5 separate regions of the Homo sapiens genome follow, and regions 1, 2, 3 and 4 are each linked to region 5. Evidence: promoter capture Hi-C in 16 types of primary human blood cells and fetal thymus (Javierre and others, 2016). All regions are on one chromosome and are shown on one strand. The core of a region is centred on a gene start or on the middle of the fragment in contact, and the rest is flanking DNA. Distances in the headings are between cores, read along the strand shown.

The links. Contacts are between HindIII fragments. The CHiCAGO score rates a contact against its expected background, and 5 or more counts as called.
Region 1: a fragment that was not itself captured here is called in contact with the fragment with the promoter of RPGR in region 5 in 1 of 17 cell types (naive B cells); the score reaches 7.1 in naive B cells.
Region 2: a contact is called between a fragment that was not itself captured here and the fragment with the promoter of RPGR in region 5, in 1 of 17 cell types (total B cells). The highest score is 8.0, in total B cells.
Region 3: a contact is called between a fragment that was not itself captured here and the fragment with the promoter of RPGR in region 5, in 1 of 17 cell types (neutrophils). The highest score is 5.7, in neutrophils.
Region 4: a contact is called between a fragment that was not itself captured here and the fragment with the promoter of RPGR in region 5, in 1 of 17 cell types (neutrophils). The highest score is 10.0, in neutrophils.

The regions. Positions count from the first base shown.
Region 1 is chrX:37,489,557-37,492,256 of GRCh38, reverse strand. It overlaps the pseudogene FTH1P19. Among named protein-coding and RNA genes, the nearest start is that of LANCL3, 81 kb to the left of the region's middle. The HindIII fragment of the contact is 241 bases long and covers 1,222-1,462 here.
Region 2 is chrX:37,507,490-37,510,189 of GRCh38, reverse strand. No RefSeq gene overlaps it. Among named protein-coding and RNA genes, the nearest start is that of LANCL3, 63 kb to the left of the region's middle. The HindIII fragment of the contact is 2,338 bases long and covers 200-2,537 here.
Region 3 is chrX:39,137,981-39,140,680 of GRCh38, reverse strand. No RefSeq gene overlaps it. Among named protein-coding and RNA genes, the nearest start is that of LINC01281, 190 kb to the left of the region's middle. The HindIII fragment of the contact is 4,995 bases long and covers 1-2,700 here.
Region 4 is chrX:37,759,936-37,762,635 of GRCh38, reverse strand. No RefSeq gene overlaps it. Among named protein-coding and RNA genes, the nearest start is that of CYBB, 19 kb to the left of the region's middle. The HindIII fragment of the contact is 4,220 bases long and covers 1-2,700 here.
Region 5 is chrX:38,326,071-38,328,770 of GRCh38, reverse strand. RPGR (retinitis pigmentosa GTPase regulator) reads left to right here and starts at 1,262. Exons shown (of 15, transcript NM_001034853.2): 1 at 1,262-1,431. The coding sequence starts at 1,404. It also overlaps a transcript of OTC not described here. RefSeq lists a silencer at 1,324-1,573. The HindIII fragment of the contact is 17,506 bases long and covers 1-2,700 here.

The DNA.
Region 1 (2,700 bases), core at 93-2,592, 840 kb after region 5:
TCATGAAGGCAGATGCGGCCACCGCGCAGGTTCTGCAGGCTCATCAGCTCCTGGGCGTGCTCCCTTTTCTCCTGCGACTGGCGCAGGAAGTAGCGGTCAAAGTGCTCCAGGGCCGCGTCGTCCTGGTCGAAGTAGAAGGCCATGGACAGGTACACATAGGATGCGTGGAGCTCCAGGCTGATGTGGGTGTTGATGGCAGCCTCACAGCTGGGATGGTGGTACCGTCGCACCGGCGACAGCGGGCCCAGGGCGGGCAGCGCGGGCGCTGGGAGGAGGGGAAAAGCAGTGGGTTTGCCAGGGGCCCGGAGCGGGTAGTGGCATCGGCGTGGGCAGTGGCGGCAGCGGCGGGGTCCTCGGAGCACCACCATGGTGGACGACAGCGGCGGCTGGTGGAGGGCGTCGTCCCCCGGGCCCGGTGGTAGTGTGGTCACAGGCTCTGCGAAGGGACCGGAAGTGAGCGGTGGAGACCTTTATGCGGGGAGGAGCGCACAAGGTCGGGCGGGTGTGGGCTGGTGCGGAGCTGCGAGGGACTTCTGACAGGTGGGGGTGGGGGAGCACGCTGAGTTCTATGGGCAGCCCGGGGAATTGGGCACTATCAGACCTCTGTGCTACGTCAATTCTGTAGTAACTTTTCTAGTGTCCAAGGACTTTCGCCTGTCCCCTGATTGTTCCCCTCTATGACAGCTTGTTCTCATTTCATAAACTTCTTGTCTTTCTTAAACTCTGAGAGTATGTTCTGATAACGTTTTCTTCTGTTTCCTGTATTATATCCTTTTTTCCCTCCTCCAGAATTAGTTCTATTTGTGCATCTTCCTCACTTTCCTTAAATATCTGGAAAACGTTTGTCCATTCATGATTGGAATCAAGGACTGGGTTAGCCTCGGTGATGAGCATGGACCTAATGCACAGTTGTGAGTCTGGATGACCAGTAGGATTCTCCCATGAACAGGAGGGTGGAGGGTGTCAATTAGGGAGTGCTCATCTCCTTTGGAGATAAAGGTATAGAGCTCCCAGGCAGAGTAGGAACTATTCTAAATGCCCAAAGCATGGCATTTCTCTGGCACTGGAAAACTTTAGTGGATCTGTCTTCTAGGTAGATGTCAACTTCCCTTTAAATGCTCACCCATGTCTGCTGCACCCTGAAGCTTAATTCTGTCTGCAGGAGGGATGACTCCACATGATAGGGAATGTGATTTCAGATATGTTTTCAGGATCAAAGCTTAAACACCAGAGTAAAGACTCCTTTTTTAAAATTTACTTCGAAAAGTCCTGTATGTTCACAGTTTTAGGTACTCAATAACTAATCCCCGTGTCTTCCCTGCTGAATTTGAAACCAATTAGTAGACACAAGACTCAGCTCACTGAAGAACAAACTTAGGTCTGTAGCAAAATGAACTTGATAGTACTTTTCAAATCTTCCAATTAGAGAAACTCGCTGTGGCAGAATAACTTCACCAAAGCTTATTTGTTTTCATCTTGGTCCACAAGTAACCATATTTTTCAAGCTACTCTTGTGATTTGATGGGGACATGTACTGATTTCTGGCTATTGGAATATGAAAATAACTGATGTATGGCCAAATAAGGCCTAGTTTATAGGACACACCCTGTGCAATCCATGTCTCAAGTGAAGAAGAGGAACAGACCCTACAATATGACATATCCAATTTGGAGAAGGAGCCTGGAACTTTGGAAAACTTATGGAGAATGTCCCCTCATCATTGTCACCACCAACTTGCACTGGACCTTGATAAAAACAAAAAATAAAAATTTACTTTAAAAGCTAAAGAGATTAGAAACATTTGTTACAGGAGATAGCCTCTTCTAACTAATCAAATTAGCTAGTCAAAGAAGGTACTGGATAACCACAGGCTGTACCCACAGGGTCCTGTAGGCTTATGGCACTGGAGTGCATACCAGAACACACCCTCTCAGTGGGAAGGCAGATGAGAAAAAGGAGAGGTTTAGATAGCTCTGGGTTATCACACTTTCTTCCTTTTGCTTACTGCACCAAATACACACACATACACACACACACACACACACACACACACACACACACACACACACACACACACATATCTCAATCCTTCTCCTTTTTTTCCTTCTGGAGAGTGAAATTTAAAATCCCTCATTGGCCAGGTATGGCAGCTTACCACTGTAATCTCAGCACTTTGGGAGGCCAAGGCAGGCAGATTGCTGGAACCCAGGAGTTCAAGTCCAGCCTGGGCAACATGGCGAAACACCCCTCTACAAAAAAATATTTTTAAAAAAAAGGCATGGTGGCACACACCTGTAGTCCCAGCTACTCAGGAAACTGAGGTGGGAGAATTGCCTAAACCCAGGAAGTCGAGGCTGCAGTGAGCCATGATCCCACCACTGCATTCCAGCCTGGGCGACAGGAGTGAAAGACTCGGTCTCCAAAAGGAAAAGAAAAAAGAAAAATCCCTCATGGACTCTTGAAGATCAAGGAAAGATGCTTTCCTTCTGCCTCGATGTCCTGGAATAAAATCAGGCTGGTCCTTGGGTACCTAACCTTAAGCCAGGAACACAAAGCACAGGGGCAGAGATCACGACTATCTGACCCCAGAGCCAGTCAGCTGTGGTGAGGAAGGTGGGACATGTAGCAACATAAAGCTCTCCTGGAATCACATACCTGGAATCTGTGTTTGTGTGGAGCAGTTCCCCAGAAAAGGGGAAT
Region 2 (2,700 bases), core at 119-2,618, 820 kb after region 5:
GCATTGCTAGCAAGTTCTCAGTTTAGATTGATACTGCTGGTCCACAGACCATATTTTGAGCAGCCAGATGCTAGTGCTGGTTTTCAATGCCTGGCATGCCCAGGCCCTGCGCCAGAGGCTTATGTATTTGGTCTGGGATGCTGCCTGGACATTGAGATTTTCAAAAGCTCTGCAGGTGATTTGGATGTGCAGCAAAGCTTGAGAGCCTCTATGCCAAAGCTCATGATGATATGTGGATTTTACTTATGTTGTCAGTGGCCCTAATGTGTTCTCTTTTTCTCATTCTCCCCCCAGTGCCCACCTAGCCATTCCTCTCCTTTTCAGCTCCAAACATCCAGACAAAGGTGGGGATCAGGGTGAGCACTTCATCCTGTTGCTCTTGTCCATCTCTGAAGAGTGGGAGGAAGTTCAGGATGGAAACAGGAGACTCAGGCAACCTGGGTTTGGGAAGAACAAGAACAGTGTTCTAGGAGTGAATTCAAGGGAAAGCTGGTTGAGATAGAATGGGCGGGGGCGGGGAATAGCACGGAAAGTTGTCACAGGACAACCTTCCTCCTGTCTTGGGACTGAGGTGTGGGGGGTAAGGAAAACAGCCATGTACCCTTCTGAGTCCTGGAGACACCTGACAACCAAACTATCTTCTAAGGTTTTTTCCTTCTCAGTATGCAGGGCAACTGGTTACTAGACATGCAAGAGAGACCCCCAGTGGCAACGTGTAGAAGTGAAGTATTTTCCCAAAGCATAAAGACCACAAAGAAACATAAGGGTAGAGGATGATGGCTTCCAGCCCATTGTTTTTATCAAACTAATGCAAGGACAGAAAATCAAATACCACATGTTCTCACTTATAATTGGGAGCTAAATGATGAGAACACGTGGACTCAAAGAAGGAAACAACAGACACTGGGGCCTACCTGAGTGTGGAGGGTGGGAAGAGGGAGAGGAACAAAAAAATAACTATTGGGTACACGGTTTAGTACCTGGATGATGAAATAATCTATTCAACAACCCCCCATGACAGCAGTTTACCTATATAAAAACCTGCACTTGTTCTCTTGAACCTAAATAAAAGTTAAAAGAGTAGAGGATGATAATGGTGATAAATCATGAGTACCACATTGTAAACATACACTGTGCCAGGCATTACTCTAAGTGATTTACATATATTAACTCATTTAATCTCAACAACCCAATGGGGTTAATGCTTTTATTATCCCTATATTACATATGGAGAAACTGAGGCACAGAAAAGTTGAACAAATTACTCAAGTTTACCCAAAATGAGAGGCTAAGATTGGATTTGAACCCAGGCAATCTGAGGTTAAGAAAACACTACACCAAATTTTCTCTCCAAAACAAAAAATTAAGAAGTCCCCTCAGTCAACTTAAAGTTTGAAACACTCAAAACTTAATGCTTGCTCGTTCTTTCTCATATCCACAGGAGAACGGTCAAGGGACATATATATTTCAATAGGTAATAGCTGAGACAAAGTCAGAGAATTCAGAAGTCCTTACAGTAGGCAGCGAAAGAGATGCAGTGAGAAGACCAAGTTTGACAAAGATGTGTAAAAAGGCGAAAGCATTTTCTGTAAACTGAACTCAAAGTGCCAGAATCCTAATTTTTAAGAAAAGTGTTACAGTGCACTCATACGGAAATGTGGAAGACAATTGTTGCACAGCGAAACTTGTTCGTATCTTAATAAATGCTTATATGGTTTGACTGTGTCCCCACCCAAATCTCATCTTGAATTGTACTCCCATAATTCCCATGTTTTGTGGAAGGGACCCATTGGGAGATAATTGAATCATGGGGGCAGTTTCTCCCATACTGTCCTACTGGTGGTGAATGAGTCTCACAAGATCTGATAGTTTGATAAGGGGAAACCCCTTGGCTCTCCTTCTCTTCTCTTGTCTGCCGCCATGTGAGACATGACTTTCACCTTCCACGATGATTGTGAGGGTTCCCCAGCCATGTGGAACTGTAAGTTCAATAAACCTCTTGCTTTTATAAACTGTCCAATCTTTGGTATGTCTTTATCAGCAGCCTGAAAAATGGACTAATACAATGCTCAAAACAATTTGCTAGCTTTGAAATGATGCAAGCTACCCATGTGTCTTTGACTAAAGCATAGAGTCTGTAAATTTTTGACTTTTACCTTTGTAACCCACAGAAGAAAGAAGACTTTTTTGTTTCTTATTTCTTTGTAACTTTCTTTTGTGGCACAGAAGATAGATGTTTGAAGTATTTTTCCTCAGACATGGGCAACGTTAGAGTTTACATGGATGGAGGTTTCCTTCGGTCAAATAGAGAGTGGACTGAGAGAGGAGAAGAGTTTTTAAAGGGGAACAAGAAAAAAGAAAACATAGAGAAACAAGTGTATCATTTCCATATGAAATATTCTTTATACTAGGAAATAATATCTTTCTATCCAGAGCCATGAAGAAAATGTAAAAGGTGAACTTTTCTCTATATCTTGAAAGGAGAATCCAGAGGCCACACTGAGCTTCTCAGGAACAGGATGATTTTGAGGTAAGCTTGGGGCAGACATTGGGAATAAGGTAATAAACTTGGGGCAGATAAAGGTCAAGGTGGGACCAGCAACTCTCTGGGTGTTCAAACACCTCAACCATCTTCTAAATGTTAGCTGCCCTGCACTTTGGACTAGATTTCTCATACTCTCCCTTATAGTCTCCTTCTGG
Region 3 (2,700 bases), core at 175-2,674, 810 kb before region 5:
GTCCTGAACTACAATGCTACATTTGTGCTGTGTGCCTCCCACAGCTGGCACACAGAATGGTCACCCCACCTCCTCCTTGGGCTTCACATCACTGGTCCCCCAGGGGTGAGCATGCCTATCTCCTCCAAGGGCTTCCTAGACTATTGCTCCATAATGTGAATAGACCCTCCTAATTGATGTCCTTTCTTGCCTCCAATCAATGTAACATCGTGCTCTTTTGGACTGGTCTCAAGCTATGCAGGACAAAGATGGACATTCCTTACCCAAATGATACTGCTCTACTCTATCTGTCCATGGGTTCCTCACCTATCTGCCTCCCTATTGGTGGTGATGTGTGCAAGGCAAGAGTGGAGGTCATCATTGAAAGAGATTACATTCTAGAAATACAATGATGACAGCCTAAAGAGATCAAGGAGAGACATGAGTGGAATATGAGTTGTTCTATAAACTATAACATTCTAAACAATATTGTGTGTGTGTGTGTGTGTGTGTCTGTTTGTGTGTGTGCCAGAGTCTTGCTCTGTCGCCTAGGCTGGAGTGCAGTGGTGCAATCTCGGCTCACCGCAACCTCCACCTCCCAGGTTCAAGTGATTCTCATGCCTCAGCCTCCCAAGTAGCTAGGATCCCAGGTGCATACCACCATGCCCAGCTAATATTTTACATTTTTAGTAAAGATGGGGTTTCACCATGTTGACCAGGCTGGTCTCGAACTTCTGACCTCAAGTGATCTGCCTGCCTTGGCCTCCCAAAGTGCTGGGATTACAGGCATGAGCCACTGCACCCAGCTTAAACAGTAATTTTGGCAAGACCACAAAGCAACTTATTTGCATTTTCTTGCATACTCACTAAGACTTACATTTGTTATCATCATCAACAAAGCACAGTTGATGACCTTTGAGAGAGTCATTGGAAGCCAGTGTTCATGGGTGGCACTACGGATGACGTGGCAACATGGATAAAGTATCCAGCTCTGAATAAATGGAATATGTGGTATGAGGGAACTGAAGAGGCAAGAAGATCTATAGAGTTACAATATAAACAGGTTCCAAAGAGCCATGGCATTGTGAGTAATAACAGCATTGCTACCTTTTTCTTGCAGTGAGTGATAAGAAATTATACAGGAATGACACATTTGGCAATAAAGAACACAAAGAGATAGTTCCTGGACCTGAACAGGAAAAGACGGTGCCAGGATACTATGAAGAATCTTCACAAGCACTGATTGAATAGTAAACAAATATGTAAGTACCTCTTCTAATCCCATCATTCTGAATTTTCATCGATAAATCAGTATACCTCACATAAGCCCACCAGTTTGGTAGCACATTTTAAAAATTAAATTGTTCATATAGATAACCCTTGCCCCTTCAAAAAAATACTTACACAGGGATCCTGCACCTAGGAGTGGCTCTAATCAAACATGGAGGTCTTGTTGAGTTATAATGCTTGAACCTAGACCCTGGCCTTATAACTTCCTTTTATTCATAATTGGTCTCAGTGTGTAGCAGGTAACCCTTTATTCTTAGTTTAACAGTTCTATTTTGGCCCCTGCATTTGGGCAATAAAAAACAACAGGCTAGTTGTGAAGCCCAAGTAATTTGTCCCTTGCTTCCAAATTCAAAGCTCCTGTTCAATTTGAGCAAATGGTTTACTACAATGAGGATAATTATTTCCTTTGTCAGGCAAAGAGTACTCATCTGGAGATATTTGGAAGCAGCCAAGGGATTCTGATTTTCCACAGATCTTTCTTGGGACTGATTTTATCCCTCACTACCTTTCCCTCCTCCCTGCCTTGGTGAACTCTAACTTTAGGTTGGGGCATAAAGTAGGACTTTTTCAGTCCCATCAAGACTCTGAGTCATGTTTCTCATATATTTGAGGTTGCTAGCCATGAAACCACCTTTGGAAAAATTATTACTGAGGAAATTATAACAGTGAGATAAATCTGACATGGTTGACTCCATCTTGTCTCTTGCCTCACAGGTTGGCTGTCTTTGCTCATTCCTGGGTGTGGGCCAAGCTAACTTTGGGAGAAATTTATAGTTTAGATCATAGCCCTTCCCAAAAAGGAAACTGCTCTTGTAAAACTAATGGAAGGCCACCAAGTAAGGATGAAAGGGGCTTGGATTCTATTAATAAATAATTACCAGCCATTATTCTAGAGGTCATAAGATTTGCAACTTCTCCAATTACTCTTGAAGATAACATCACTATTGTAGAATCTAAGGTTGGCCTTTTGAGATGTCTTTTCAGGTTTCTGCATTTCTGACAACCAGATGGCCGCACCTGGACCTGCCAACCAGTCCTGTGGCCCCCACCCAGGAAATGACTCAGCATAAGAGGACAGCTTTGACTCCCTATGATTTCATCCCCGAGCCAATCAATCAGCACTCCTGATTTACTGGCCTGCTACCCACCAAATTATCCTTAAAAACTCTGATCCTTGAGTCTTCTGGGAGACTGATTTGAGTAATAATGAAACTCTGGTCTCGTTTATAGCCAGCTCTGCGTGAATTAAACTCTTTTCTATTGCAATCCTCCTGTCTTGACAAATCAGCTCTGTCTAGGCAGTGGGCAAGGAGAAGCCATTGGGTAGTTATAGTCTCATTAGGAAGAGTCTCTCTTAGTAGAGGTATAAGCTACTCCCTATTTGCTTCCAGATGGAACAGGCTTTCTCGTAGGACCTTGAGGAAAAGCTAC
Region 4 (2,700 bases), core at 116-2,615, 570 kb after region 5:
GTCAAAGAAGGAATAGCCAAGAAAATTTAACTTAATTTTATAGTACTCAAGGAAAAGTCATGGGTGGAAACTGTTAGGTCAAGCTCTGAGGGAGAACAATGAAAGATTAATGAAAAAAATATATGCCTTATTTCTCTCAGTGTTAGTGACTACATCTTTCTCAAAATTATATATCCTCTTCAATGCAGCATACTTTACTTTTATTTAAATTACTTAAATGAAGAGCTTTAATATTATAGAAAAAGCATAACTGAATGTGAAAGTCAGCTACACTCCTTTCAACTGAGTTAATCCATTAGTGGAAGTCTAGCTGCATAAACCAGGCACCACATCCAGGTGGTGGCATCAACAGCCACTTCATGTCTCCCATATCCACTGGTGGCACCTTCATGGATTTCTCAGCATGTTGCTTGTTTTAAGCAGGGCATTTAGTTGCAAACAACAGAAGCCAACTTTTGATTAACTCTGTCAAAACATAACTTATCAAAAAGCTACACAATGTCTTGATAGATTGACAGGAAGGTTGGAGAAACAGAAGGGGAAACAAGGCAAGAATAAAGGGAAGCCAAGGTGATGCCAAAGGAAAACATCTGGATCAGTGGCATCTACCACCAGCACTGGCAGTAGAATGGGATTCTAAACTCTCCTACTTCTCATCAATATATAAAGTCCTGGAAGCATCTCATTATGTTTCTGCTTTTGCTCCATCTGCCAAGAATCAAAGAGAATAAATATTTCAGCTTTTCGTCTTCTGTCACAGTGGTGGATTCTTCAAGCACAAGAAGGAGCTTTATAGGATGGGCAGCTAAGGATTGGGTAATTTCTATCACAGCACCAGTGAGGAAAGTAAATGCTAGAGTTTTGGTCACACCCACACACATAATGCCTTTTCCAGTTAAGACAGTCTGTAGAAAGAATGCTGCAGAAATTTGTGCATCCATGAGACACAGATGCATAGGAAATCAAATTTTTATATTCTGTTTCCAGAGATTCTACTACCTTTACCTATCTCCTCTCAGCTTTCTAATCCCTCAGGCAGTACATCTGCCCCTCTGAGAGAGGTTGAAAGGTGAGTGGGTTTCATCAATAAAATATAAATGGTATAGACAATGGTACATACACTAGTACATGTTTAATAACTGCATCTCTGGATTTAGAGAGGCAGCCCTGATTTGTAGAATTTGCCCATTTCTGTGGTGTAAATACTTCCACCATGGCAGATTTCAAAGATGGTTATATTTAATATCCAGTTTACAAAATTTCTGAAAGTTTAGCAATTAGCTTTCATGACCAAGTATGCAATGGCTTTGGCATAACACTGAGTGGATAAGAGTGACATAAGGCCTAGCAGTTAAGAGGAAAAATAAACTTGCTAAAAGTATGTGTGAAAAGAAAAAGAAAAAATGGCCACTGTATTTCTAATATATATTTATCAATTTGGAAAAGAGAAAAGAGAGACAAGTAGGAAATTAGAGAGTCACAGTTTCAAGGCCCATCAACTGATAAGTTATAGGAAATGATGAACATAAATGTAGCCTAAAATAAGTGAGGTGAGAGAACTCCATGAAAACAAGCAGAGAAAATAATTGATCTACTGTTTTGGGTTAGAGAACTTATTTAAAGAGGCTTGAGAAAAAAGAGCACCTGGAACAAATCTTGAGGGTTAGATATATTTATCATTCATTGCTACAAAAATGTTGCATAGAAACTACTGCAGATCATCGTGGCTTAAAATATTAATCATGCATTATTGTTCTTGGGTCCATGAGTTGTCTAGGTAGTTCTCTTGGTCTTCACCAGGGTCACTTATATATCTGCACTCATCTTTGGGTTGGATAGGTGGCTCTGTTGATCTTGGCTGAACTCATTCATATGTTTGAAAGGCATCTGGTTCTTAGCTGGTTTAGGATGGCTTCAGTTTTTCTTCATTGGTTCCTCTTATCCTTCCAGAAAGCTAACCCAGACTTACTCTCATGATGAGTTAAAGATGCAACAGTGAGTGAGCCAAATCTTACAAAAGAGCAAGAGGAAATATATATGAGCTTTTCTTTTCTTTTCTTTCTTTTTCTTTTTCTTTTTTTTTTTGAGACAGAGTCTCGCTGTGTTGCCCAGGCTGGAGTATAGTGGCAAGATTTTGGCTCACTACAACCTCTGCCTCCCAGGCTCAAGCGATACTCATGCCTCAGCCTCCTGAGTAGCTGGGATTACAGATGTGAGCCACCACACCTGCCTAATTTTTATATTTTTAGTAGAAACAGAGTTTCAGTATGTTGGCCAGGCTGGTCCCAAACTCCTGGCCTCATGTGATCTGCCCACATTAGTCTCCCCAAGTGCGGGGATTACAGGTGTGAGCTTTTCAAACCTCTTCTTGCATCACATTTGCTAACATTTGATTGGCCAAAGCAAGTCACTTGGCCAATGACTCAGAGTGAGATGGTATCACAAAGCTGCAGCCGTAAAGTGTGGCTAGAGAAAAGCCATTACTTGATTTTATTACTACAATCAATCTACCATTCTAGGTATTATGGAAACAGTGGTAACCATGACAAACATGGTTTTCTCATTCTTCATGGAACTCATAGCCTAGTGGATGGTGCAGAAGTGTTCACAGGCAATTAATACACAGTGTAGTTAGTGGTGTAACATGAGAAGTTTATATTGTATTGGTTCCATATTTAGCAACCCATGACATCTTGTTTA
Region 5 (2,700 bases), core at 13-2,512:
TTCTCTACAAAGCATCTAGACCAGGCAGAATGATTTCAGGGACACACATAACTGATCCTGTCCTGTTGTTCTACTGCCTAAAACTTCTCAGTGGTTTCACATTGTCTTTAGGATAAAATCTCAGATCCTTAATAGGCCCAAGACCTTGCCACCTCGCTAGGAACCAGCCTCGCCTCTTGGTGTTCCTGGAAAGAGTCAAGCTCCTTACAAACCTTTATACACAATTTACTCTCTGCCAAGAGCTCTCTCCCCCTCCTGGCTTATCTTTCTCCAGTTCTTAGATTTAATGTTCTTTCTTCAGATAAGCCTTTCTTAACCTCCTACACCAGGTCAACGCTTCTTGTTAACCACTTCCTTAGTAACCTCCACTTTGCTTTGTAAGTAAATGATTATTTGTGTAACTAATAGTTTAATGTCCCCTCTTCATGTTAATGCAAACTTCCTGAGAAAGTGTTGGTAACACACAAGAGTAATTCAGGGATCCCTGAATCCAATTGTGTCTGATTCTAGGGCCCATGTCCACAACTACCAAACGTACGTAAATCTGCTCATTCTGGAAGATGGCTTTTTGCTTCTTTATTTCATGATAGCCAAATGTTGATGCATGGGAAACCCTGCATCATATAACATCGCTGAGCAAATTCTAGAGCAATGATGTTGGGCTACCCCTTTGTGTATGTTCTGTGAGTAGTGGACCATATACACCTCAGCTTTTACTTTTGTTGACTACAGGCTGGACTAGCTGGACTAGCTGCCCACATGCTTAAACAGAGGTAACATTAACCACTTTACAGGGTTGTAATAGTACTCATTTGTCCAATAAATACGTAATGAGCATTCAGTATAGGCCAGATGTTGGTTTAGATGCTGGGGATATCTTTAGCAGAGTGCTTACCTCCTTTAATGTTCCAGCTGGTCACTATTACTAGTAGTGTCATAATTGTGTGTCGATGCTTGCTTATGTCACGGAGTATGGGATTTGTGACGTTTGCCACTCATGGGCAGGGTCCCTGCGGCGCCTGGACCTCCAACGGCACAAGGGCGCGGACTCCACAGCATCACTGCGCGGCGTGGCCGCCTCTCTGCTCCAGGCCGCCAGAGGGCGCGTGGTCTCTACTGCCCCTCCGCTGTGCCTGAGCCTGCCCCTTACCAGCCACCCGGCCTCCGTTCCCCTCCCCAACGGCGCCTGTCCCGCCTTGCATTCCCAAGCTCCGCCCCCGTTGCCCGTAGCGGCTGTTTGTTGACTTCCGGGAGCGCGGTTGTAGTTGATCTCCGGAGTTTCGCCATGCGGAACTTGGGGGCTTTCGCGGCCCGCGTCGGTGCGGAGTAGCTGCTTTAGCCCCGACCAAACCGTCCTCTACAGCCTCCTGGCCCCGGCGCAGGCTGCCCGTACTGCCCGTGGCATGAGGGAGCCGGAAGAGCTGATGCCCGGTGAGTTGCGCCCGCGCCGGTGGCGGAAGGCCGGGAGGGAGGGTCCGCGGGCGGCCGGGCCCCGCCTCCGGATCGGCCCTGTAGGGGGACAGGCCCCAGGCTTGGCAGCCGGACTGGGGCGGGATCGCTGGTTGCGCTCCCGCGAATGACTGAGGGCAGAGGACCGGACGGGAAGAACAGGATGGGGGAGAACGGGAAAGAGGGTGCCTGTCTTTCGTATGCTTTTTAAATAAGCTCTTGATGAGCTTCTTGAAGGCAGGGACACTTTTTTTTTTTTTTTATGAGACGGAGTTTCACTCTTGTTGCCCAGGCTGGAGTGCAATGGCGCAATCTCGGCTCACCGCAACCTCCGCATCCCGGGTTCAGGCGATTCTCCTGCCTTAGCCTCCGAGTAGCTGCGATTACAGGCATGCGCCACCACGCCCGGCTAATTTTATATTTTTAGTAGAGACGGGGTTCCTCCATGTTGGTCAGGCTGATCTCGAACTCCCGACCTCAGGTGATCAGCCCACCTCGGCCTCCCAAATTGCTGGGATTACAGTCGTGAGCCACCGCGCCCGGCCAGGGAGGGACACTTTCTGTAAACTCCCCAAAGTGCGGACTCCAGACTTGTGCACTTTGGAGGTCCTGAGCTCCCGGTTATGTATTGAATGCAGTAAAGAGTGAGTGATCAGGGCTGTGGGGTAAAAGGGGATACAGGAAATAAATTGGACAAAGAGGGAGAAGAGGGACCCTTTAGCGAGTGTTTTTTAGCCTTTTTTTTCCTGAGCTCCATAGTTAGAAATACTTTTGACATTGTGACCCGATACTCCATATATACCGTGTAACAGAAATAGATGTCTGGTGAAGCAGTCCTTGTTCTATCCACTTAGATTCCACACACACCTTTTTGATAATGCATTCTTTTAAAATGCTGATCGTGATCCACTGAATTGATTTTCTGGCCCACTAATAGGTCACGACCATTTTGAAAAAACACTGGGTTTGAGCAGAATCATACCTTCACTGAAATATGTATGTTTTCTTCCATGCTCCTGGCCGGAACTGACATTCCTGGCCTGCAGTTCACAATTTAGTGAGACATACAGGAAAGTAAACAAAATGACCATATAAATTGACAGTAGATATTACAGGGCCAGAGCAGAGCCACCAAACCTTGGCTTGGGATGAGGGTATCAGGGAAGCCAGGGGAGCCAAGACAAAACAGTTAAAATGTTAAAGTAATTCATTCTGGGGAAACTCAGAGTCTGTTCTAGATCCTAGTCTCCC